Regions from separate parts of the Homo sapiens genome. Here region 1 is linked to region 2. Evidence: promoter capture Hi-C in 16 types of primary human blood cells and fetal thymus (Javierre and others, 2016). All regions are on one chromosome and are shown on one strand. The core of a region is centred on a gene start or on the middle of the fragment in contact, and the rest is flanking DNA. Distances in the headings are between cores, read along the strand shown. Region 1 holds the start of RPS6KC1 (ribosomal protein S6 kinase C1). Region 2 holds the start of RAB3GAP2 (RAB3 GTPase activating non-catalytic protein subunit 2).

Region 1 (5,001 bases), core at 948-3,447, 7.2 Mb before region 2:
CCGCCTCCGCCTCCCCAAGTGTTGGGATTACAGGTATGAGCCACCACGCCCAGCTGAGATTCAGCCTATTTTCTTAAATAAGTGTTCCTGGGTTGCTGTAAGCTTTTGGTTAGTTTCCAGAGTTCTGAAAGAGTTAATACTGAGAGTTTTTGTTAGTTTTTTCATAGTTTATGTGGAGCAGTGAACTTTTGGAGTTCCCCCTAACAAAGAATCAGTTTTTGGTTTCATTGGTTTTTCTTTATTGCTTTTCTCTTTTTCTATTTCATTGTTTTTCTCTTTTTAAAAAAATTTCATTGAGTTATTACTCTTTTCTTTATGTTTTATTCCTTATTCTTGCTCTAGGGTTCAATATTTTTTTTTCTAGCTTCTTAAAGTAGAAGCTTAGTTCATGACCCTTCTTCTTGTCTACTATAAGCCATCAAGGTTATACATTTCCCTCTAAGCACTGCATTAGCTGTGTCCCACACATTATGATATGCTTCCATTTTCATTCAATTCCAAATATGTTTAAAAGTTTTTGTCACTTATTTTTGATCCAGGCATCTTTAAGAATTGTATTTACTTTCCAAATATTCATGAATTTTATGGGTAACTTTCTATTATTAACTTCTAGTTTAATTCCCTGAGGTCACAGAGCAAATCCAATTTATATTGGTTTTAAAAATTTTGTTAACATTTATTTATTTATTTATTGAGACGGAGTTTCGCTCTTGTTGCCCAGGCTGGAGTGCAATGGTGCGATCTCAGCCCACTGCAACCTCCGCCTCCCGGGTTCAAGTGATTCTCCTGCCTCAGCCTCCTGAGTAGCTGGGATTACAGGCATGTGCCACCATGCCTGGCTAATTTTGTATTTTTAGTAGAGACAGGGTTTTTCTACATTGGTCAGACTGGTCTCCAACTCCCAACCTCAGGCTATCTGCCCACCTTGGCCTCCCAAAGTGCTGAGATTACAGGCATAAGCCACTGCGCCCAGCCTGTTAACATTTATTTTATAGCCCAGGATATGGCCTGACTTGTTGAATGTTTTCTGTACACTTGAAACAAACATTTTCTGCTACTATTGAGTGGCGTGTTCTATAAATGTCTATCAGGTAGAGTTGGTTGATAGAGCTTTTCAGGTTTTCTGTATCCTTATTCATTTATTTGTTTACATGTTTTGTCAATTACCGAGAGAGGAGCGTTGAAATCTTTTTTGTTTTTTTTGAGACAGATTCTTGCTCTATTGCCCACGCTAGAGTGCAGTTGCATGATCTTGGCTCACTGCAACCTCCACCTCCCTGGTTCAAGTGATTCTTGTGCTTCAGCCTCCCAAGTGACTGGGGTTACAGGAATGTGCCACCACGCCGGCTAATTTTTGTATTTTTAGTAGAGATGAGGTTTTGCCATGTTGGCCAGGCTGGTCTTGAACTCCTGGCCTCAAGTGATCTACCCACTTCAGCCTTCTAAAGTGCTAGGATTACAGGCATGTGCCACCATGCCAGGCCTGAGTGTTGAAATTTTAACTATAATTGTGGATTTGTCTATTTCTTCTTTTAGTTCTAATCGTTTTTGCTTTTTACATTTTTAGTTTTGTTATTAGGTATATACACATTTAGAATTGCTCTGTCTTCTTTATGAATTGAATTCTTTAAGTTTTGTCCTTCTTTATTCCTGATCATATTTCTTTGTCTTAAGTATTTCTAGTAGTGTTTTCGTGGCACATGTTTTTCCACTTTTTAAATTTTTAATCAATAATATCTGGTAAATCAAAGAAACTCAGAGAACATGGAGAGGAAGTTGCTAAGGATGATATCAAATAGCTAACTAATGTAATTAAATGGAGAGTAAAACCAGTCATGGAGATAGAAATAGGTATATGAGGGGAAAAAATGTTGAGATTTTGATTTGTTCTGTTTCCAGTGTTAGATATATAATAAAGATGTAGGTAAAGTGAGTCAAGTCCTGGAAGAGAGATATGCTGGGAGATAGACATTTGCAAGTCAATGGGAATAAAGAACAAAGGATCAAAGGCAAAATCTTGAGAAACAAGAATACTAAAAGTTCTTGGAAGGAATAGAAACCAGCAAAGGAGACTGAAAAAAGAGCAAGTCATCTGAGTATAAAAGAGAAAAGAGAAATAATGCTGACTCATATGCTAAGAATATACAAAAGTTTTAAAAAGGTAGAAATGGTCAGAGACTTTCAAAATCCAGAAATATTGGGCAAATTGAGGTCACTGGAAACTGTTTTCAGAGCAGTTTCAGAGTAGCAATATAGAGGTGAAACCAGATTGAATTGGACATGGGAATAAATGGGTGATGATGCAATGTTGATGTAGATTACTTTAAAATCAACTTAAACAACTTTGACGGTGAGTGGAAGGAGAAAGAAAGGAAGAAAAGAAGGCAAAATGAATAATGCCCTTTACTCCCTTCTCTCCTGGCTAACTCCCATCTCTCTTCCAAGACTCAGTCTTCTATCAGAAAGCCTTAGGCGATCTTCCATCCTGAATTGATGTGCTCTTTAGTACTCCATATATACATTCACCATGGTACTTATCACAGTATATTTTGTGTCTTTATTTTTCCTACTAGATGGTACTTGAGAACAGGGACTATCTACCTTTTTTTTTTTTTTTTTTTTTTTGAGAGAAGTCTTGCTCTTGTCCCCCAGGCTGAAGTGCAATGGTGCGATCTTGGCTCACCGAAACCTCCACCTCCCGGGTTCAAACGACTCTTTTGCCTCAGCCTCCCAAGTAGCTGGGATTGCAGGCGCCTGCCACCACGCCTGGCTAATTTTTTGTATTTTTAGTAGAGACGGGGTTTCACCATGTTGGCCAGGCTGGTCTCGAACTCCTGACCTGAGGTAATCCGCCCGCCTCGGCCTCCCAAAGTGTTGGGATTACAGGCGTGAGCCACCGCGCCCGGTCGGAGAACAGGGACTATCTTTGTAACTCCAATGCCAAATTGGCATCATGTCTGGCACATAGTAGGTGGTGAATTCAGGTTTAATGAATGACTAATAGACTTAGATATATGTAGGTTGAAAAGAAGGAGCCAGTGGTGAGAAAGAGATTAAACATACAGAAAGGAGATTTGGAATGTCATTGAAACAGTGTCTTAAGGTTTGCCAAAGAGGATGGGATTCAGATCACATGTGGAGTCATTAGCTGTAAAAATGAGCAAGTGATATGTGTACGTTTCAGACTGGCATGGAAATGTGAGAAGACAAAGGAATTGGTACTAAGGGCCATAGCTGCTTCTTCCTCTTCTTTTTTCCCTGTAAAGAAGAGTGGTGGTGCGGAGAGTAGGGAGGCAAAAGGAAGAGGAACAGAGTCTTTAGGATAATGGCAAAGACTTGGCATGAATATTTTGTGGAATGAAAAGGAACCTTGATCACAAAAAGATAAAGGAACTGCCAAGCGTTGATAACAACCTCAGCTGAAATTGGAAACTGTAGTGAGTGACTCGGAGAGGTCGAGTGACATATTTCTTTCTTCTAGCCAGAGGCGGACTCCAGATTTTCGAACCTGTGGGGATTTTTAAAAGATTGATATTGGCTTGGGAGCTTTTTTGGGTTGGGGGCTTGCTGTGCAGATGTGTTACAGAAAGGCGCTCAATGGAAGGAAATTCGTCTTAGAAAGAAGTAAGGGATATGTCTCAGAGAATGAGATGTTGCTGTGGGTATTTAAAATGATAGGCTGTGAATAGGTAAGGAAAGAAGGTGCTAGGCTATGGTATCTCTCCATCCCTTCAACACTCCACTTAAGTTTGTACCACGGCGGGGCGGAGGCAGGGAGGACCACGCTCTCCCGGTGTGGCGTGGCTATACCAACTCTCATAAAATCTCATAAAAGGTGACGGAGCTAGCGTACAAGAGGTCGTCTTTAGTGGAGAGGCCTGAGGTCTCCGCAGTGACGGGGGTGGCAGCGCGACCCCTTAGTCTTCAACTACAGGCCAGTCCCAGGTGCCCCAAAGGGGCTAGAATCTAAGGAGGAGTCTCCCCTCCCCCTAGAAGCGGGAGATAGCCTGGCCCGGAAGCTTCTCTGCTGACCCGGAAGCAGAGCTGTGCAGCTGAGGCGCCGCCGTGGAGCCGCCTTGGAGCCACCGCCCCCTCGCCGCTTCGCCGCTGCGTTGGGGAACCTGGACCGCGGCGGCGCCGGGTTTCCCTCATGATCCCGGGCGGGTGGCGGCGGCGGCAGAGGCGGCGGGAGGATGACCTCTTACCGGGAGCGGAGTGCCGACCTGGCCCGTTTCTACACTGTCACCGAGCCCCAGCGACACCCGAGGGGCTACACAGTATATAAGGTCACCGCCCGGGTGAGTGCCGGTGTCGGGCTGGGGTAGAGCTTGGATTGGGACCTGAGGATCTGGGGTGGGGACCCTGATGTGAGGGTACCTGACTCTGGCTCAGAGCCGAGGGTGGGACTGGGTGCTGCTCCTACTGGCGGGACTTGGGTGTCGGAGGTTGGGATTTTTAGAGTAGTGGCTGAGTGTGATATGCCCAGGGCTTCACTGTAGTAGGTCGTGGTAGAGTCCTCTTTCTGGGGGTGGGGCAGTCAGTGGTTGATGGTTTTAAATTGATGACTCAGTTCCCATCCCGTTTGGACTTTCTCTTCTGAGTTCGCAATTTGCAGAAGTGGTTTTGCTTGCTCCAGGAAGATAATGCAGATTAAAAAGTGTTAATTTATGTATTGTTTGGCTTATGTAATATAAGTTGTTTTTTCTCTTGACCTTTATCAGGTTTGCTGTGAGAAAGACAGATTCTTGGGACAGATGTCAGTGTTAGGCCACCAACCTAGGAACTGTGGATCCGGGCTTTGTCAAACCTTTGAGTTTTTCATGTTTTTCAGTAGGAGACGTGAAAAAAATCTGCTGAGGGTGGCTTGTGTGAGCTACCATGAGGGCACATTTTAAAGTTGGGAGGCTCCTTTACATCAACTAACTGGTCCAATTTTTAGTACCCACTTTATGTTTCATTGCTTTTGCCTTGAGTTTTAAAGAGAGTCTGCATCTTCTAGGA
Region 2 (5,239 bases), core at 470-2,969:
TCTCTCCTCCACTTTGCTACCAGAGCACATTACAGGTCTTCAACAAATGTTGTTGATTACATTAAGTACAAATCTGACAATGTCATTTCTCTACTTAAACTTTCAGAGAAACGCCACAATTTTCACAAGGCCTCTCATGGTCTAGCTCCTTATTACTACTACTGCCTCATTGCCCCAACTCTTCCTCTCCCATCCTCCTCTCCAGCCATTCAGCTTTTCTTAGTTCTCTAAATACCATGCCATTTCAGGCCTCCCTTCCTCTGCACATGCTATTACTGCTCCTTTACTCCTCTAACTAGTACTTCAAAGGTAGGCTTAAGTATCACCACTTCAAGAAAATGCCTCATGTATATCTCAGTCACACTGAATGGAAGTTAATGATTTGTCTGTAAACCAGAAGTTCCTACAGCAGGGTCCACCAACCTTATTTGGTTTGTAGCACCAATGACTGGCACAAAGTATGCAATCATTCACAGATGGGTTCGATTTGATATCTTCTAAATTTTCTAAAAAAGGGAGAGGAGCTTAGTGGGCTTTATATCACCATTCCGGTATAGCACAAAGTGAGAGCGCTGTACTACAAAGCCAAATGTGCTTCAGGTTGGAAATGCAAAAATAAAATAAAATAAAATAAAATAAAATAAAACACAAGGCACACCCTTTCAAAATGAAATGTACGAAATTCTGAAAGCCTATATAGTATCTAATAAACCAGCCTTGGAACTTTATACTACTTGGGGAAAGGCTTATTAAACACTTTGATGATAAAAATAGGTGGAAGGCTTCAATAAAGCAAATTAACCTTTCTTGGCTATGTCACTGTAATTTTAGTTCCTAATGTAGATTCTCGTTCACTTCCTGACAGGTTATTTTCCTTCTTTGAGAGAGTCTTACCTCAAGAGTCACTCATTTGTCAGCCATTTGTTCTCAAAATCTGAATGGGGGAAATGCAGATGAAAGAAGGGAGAGTGTGGGGGGATGATCAACACTTTCGGAATGGGAGGTAGCAGAAGGCCACAGTCTCCGGGATGGAAGAGAGTGGGAGCTGGGGCAATACCAGAGTGGAGCGCTGACATGTGGCAAGGAACGGGGAGGATGCGATCACGGAGCAGGCAACATGAAACAGGGAACGACCCCAGGCTGAAGATGGGAGACGGAGAAGATACTCAGAGAGAAAGCTAGGAATGTGTGGGGGTGGGGGGAGGGAGGGAGAAAGCGGTGATAGGCAGAGGCGAGAGGAAACAAGACGCAGTTTTTAGCCAGGGGTCAGAGGGCCTAAGGAGAAAAGCTGGGTCGAGAGGAAGACAACACAAATGGGGCTTCAGGACGAGGTGGGCAGGGTGTCATCCCGGAGCGGAGGGGAGGCACGGGGAGAACTGGGGGTCCAGAGGGCAGAGGCAGGAGGCGCAGAGCGAGTAGGAGACTCGAACCCGTGAGCAGAGGCCGCGGGTGACGAGGGAAGGAAGGGCGAGGCCAGAGAGGCACTTACTGGGGTCCCTCCGCAAGGCGCCGCTGAGGATCTCCTCCCGCAGGTGAGGAAAGAGGAAGTCCCGGGCGGCCTGGAGGTCCTGGAAGTAGCAGAACTGGACAATGGAGCAGGCCATGGCTCCAGGGAACCCCACTACGGCACTCACCTTACCTCACCACGCCCTGCCCCCTCCACCCCACTGCGGCCGCCACCGAGCCCCAATAGCTCTAGCCAAGCAGAAGGCGGAGAAACCAAACCGGAAGCTGTCACTGACACGGGTCCGCTGTCTCCGAGTACTGCGCAGGCGCAGGCTGGCCCAGGCGCCTAGGGCGCGGGGGCCCGGGTCACGTGACTACGGCGCCGCCGCTGCAGGTGGAGCCAAAGTCGACGTGGAGGCTTGGGGCAGATTTTTCAGTCCCAGTTGTGTGTCTACGCCGAGGCATGAACCCTTTCATTCATTCTGGCTTTTAGCCAGAGGTGTTCTAATTGGACTTGTCCGCGCAGCCCTTTGACTTATTCAGTCTTATTGGTCCCCTACTATTGGCACGATCCTGATGTTTCACAGAAACTAATTCGTTTTAAACTAGTGGCAGGCCAGTGGGGGACCGTATCCTGCAAGAGTCGGATTTTGAAAAGATTAATTGCTCTTCCGGAGATTAGCCCCGTCAAGGCTGGCTTTAAATGCTCCTACTATAGATTCCCATAGTACTACGCAAGCCCAATATAGTACGTGTTATAGTGTATTATACACTTTTGTTTTCATTATTCATTTGGTTTTTCATTCATGCATTCATCCATCCATTCAACAAATATTTGTTAGTCTTTTAAATGCCAGCCACGCAGGGTGCTGAGCATTAGAGAACAAAAGAGAAGAAGTACCTTTTCCCAGAAAGCTGGAATTCTAGTGACTGATACAGGCAGTAAGCAATTAATTACAGTATTTCCCTTTAATCCAAGGGGATATGTTTTAAGATCCCCAGTGGATGACTCAAACCATGGATAGTACTGAAACCTATGTATGTGTATTATGTTTTTACCTATACATATATATGATAAAGTTAAATTTATAAATTAGGCACAGTGAAAGATTAACAATAACTAATAATTAAATTGAATAATTATGTGGAAAATGAACCCATGGATAAAGGGGGGACTACTGTACTTAACTATTTAACTGAAATTGTGATCATGCTAGTAAGTGCTTCATAAATATTTGCTGAAGAAATAAATGGAATGCATACATAAAGTAAATAGAATAACTTGTTTCTTTGACAAAGCACTATTTTTGAAAGTACTTTACATTGTTCATTTGGATAGTCACAAATGCCATCTAAAAATAGTGTGTCTTATCCCATTTTTAAAATAAAGAAATTGAGCTGTCTCTGAGCAGACTTTAAGTTATTTTTCCAAAAAATAAAAACAAAAAAAATTATTTTAATGTGAGCACAAAGGCCTGTAGGCACTTACACATTTCCTAAAGGAAACCTAAAGAGGCCATCCACTTTGTATGAAAAAAGGGCACAGGAACAAATGAAAGGCAAGTGGATGGGGTCCAGAGCATTCATTTCTGTCAGGCCCGTGGACATACACACTTAGTCCTAATAATATAACAACTATAATTTAGTGCCCAGGTTCCTACTCCATTATTTCCTACTTCTAGAGTAGGATGATTTTCACAAAATAGGATAGGCAATTTCTATGTTATCAGGTTAACAGGAATCAGTTCTTCACCTATAAAAGGCAGTTGAATCAGATGTGCTGTAAGGTCCCTTTAAGCATCAGGGACCTATACTTCTGTAATCAAAGCTTTCAGAAAAAGCAAGCTGCCAGTGCTCCCTTCTTCCATCTGAAGAAATGCAGTGTTTCCTCAGATCATCACTAACTAGAATAATCCAGCCCTGATAAGATTATTCCCTAAAATCCAGCACCAATCCCAAACTAAACCAAAATTTAAATTTAGATTCTTAGTGTTACTGGACGAATAACAAACACATGACACTTTCTGGAAGGAGACTGTCATTCCTTGAAAACCATTCAAGTTCCTATTCAGGTAAATGCATTTTGTGGAAGTAACTGCTGTTGGCTGATTTTGCTGGCCTTTGTTCTTCCCTGAGGCATTCATATGTCTCCTGTGGTGGTCATTGAATTTCATTACTGTGTTGGCTCAGTTTTAATGGTGAAGTCCCTGACTTCCTTCCAAGTACTGTTGAAAAGGATCATTCATGGATGTTTTTAAGGACTTTAGATACCCTTCACAGAAATTACAACACATTCATGAACTGAACTCTTCCCCCAGGAAGTTGTAATGCAACAGGGGGGGATGCCTCTGGAGTTCTGCTACCATGGTTTCTGCGGCATGTGGGAGGATTGCATCAGACAGTGAATATCACTTATTCCACAGTCATAAGAAAGCACATTGCAAAAATGTGCAGGCCTTACATATCCCAGCATTGACAGTGTCTCTCCGAGGTCTGGGTTCAGGAGGTAGGAAAAGCACTGTGACCAAAATAACAACAGGATGAGTCCAGGTACCAATGTGAACTTCCTCCAGTATCCATTAGTGTGAGTCAGAGCACAGATGACTGTTGTTAAGAGAGAGATGTGTTACTGAGGAAGATAAGCAGCAGCCCCTTGCCAATCCTTAGCAGCAGCTTGAAGCGAAGGGGTTGAGTTGCAGGATGGGCACTAAACGCAGATGTGAGAGAAAGAGCAATGGACTTGGAATCATGACTTTGGGGAATTCATGTCACTTTTTTGGGACTTAGTTTCTTGGTTTATAAAATGAAGAGGCTGGGCTCTAAAGTTCATCCCAGGGATATGTAGGTTTTGGTAAGAGACTGGGAATGGCAAGTTCTGGGAGCTGGAATTGCTTAGAAGGAGTGGTCTGTGTAAGCACCCTAGTAAGAAGCTTGGGTCAGCAGGAGAAAATGTGAGGGTACTGGACATCTCTAAGGGAAAGTAAGGGGAGCATAGCAAGGGCGTGGAGAGTCCTTGAAGCCTTACCTCATAGCTGTGCTAAGGGTCATCCTTGAATTGAAGATTGAGCAGAAGCAAGGGCTATTTACAGTTATTATTCAACAAACATTTATGGAGTGCTTTTTACATTAAAGATACTGTAGTAAGCACAGTAAGGCAATAAGGACAAGTGATCCAGAGATTCACTACTTAAAAGCAGACAAACACAAATGCTCTAAGAGCAGAGTGTGATGAGTACCATGGATGGCTTTTGGATAAAGGGCAGTGGGAGAAATAAGGGAGAGATTAATTTAGATCCCTAGGGGTGTCCCTTGGAAAAGAAGTAGTGTGGAAGAGGTAGGAAAGGCATTAAACAAATTGGTTCTTGATTATAGAGAACCTCAAAATCCAAATAGTGAAACCGCCTTTGCAAAATTATGACTGAGATAGTGAAAGAGATGTAACTTAACCGACTCCATCTTGCTTCTAACCTCCAAGCTGTCCTTGTTCATTCTTGGGCGTAAGTTGAACTAACTTTGAGAGAAACTTAGTTTACAGTTTAAACAAAGACGGTAACAGCCTTTTCCCAAAGCAGACCTCCTTCTTACCCGGGGACTAGATTGCCTTCGTAGGACTAACATTAGCCACAAGATTAAAAATTATGGTTTAGGAGTCATGCAGCTGGAGAGTGTGACCCTCCCTAAACTGCTCCTAAGATCAATGCTTGAACTATTTTGTAGACCCTGCACTTGATGGATCAGCTGGCACCACCCAAATCAATAAACTGGCTCATCTGACCTTGTAGCCCCCACCCAG

Evidence for each region. Contacts are between HindIII fragments. The CHiCAGO score rates a contact against its expected background, and 5 or more counts as called.
Region 1: a fragment that was not itself captured here is called in contact with the fragment with the promoter of RAB3GAP2 in region 2 in 1 of 17 cell types (non-activated CD4 T cells); the score reaches 10.0 in non-activated CD4 T cells.

What each region holds. Positions count from the first base shown.
Region 1 is chr1:213,047,212-213,052,212 of GRCh38, forward strand. It overlaps RPS6KC1 (ribosomal protein S6 kinase C1), which reads left to right and starts at 4,030. Exons shown (of 15, transcript NM_012424.6): 1 at 4,030-4,298. The coding sequence starts at 4,194. RefSeq lists a silencer at 4,159-4,258. The HindIII fragment of the contact is 3,639 bases long and covers 379-4,017 here.
Region 2 is chr1:220,270,734-220,275,972 of GRCh38, forward strand. It overlaps RAB3GAP2 (RAB3 GTPase activating non-catalytic protein subunit 2), which reads right to left and starts at 1,720. Exons shown (of 35, transcript NM_012414.4): 1 at 1,490-1,720. The coding sequence starts at 1,604. RefSeq lists an enhancer at 1-315. The HindIII fragment of the contact is 3,718 bases long and covers 1-3,272 here.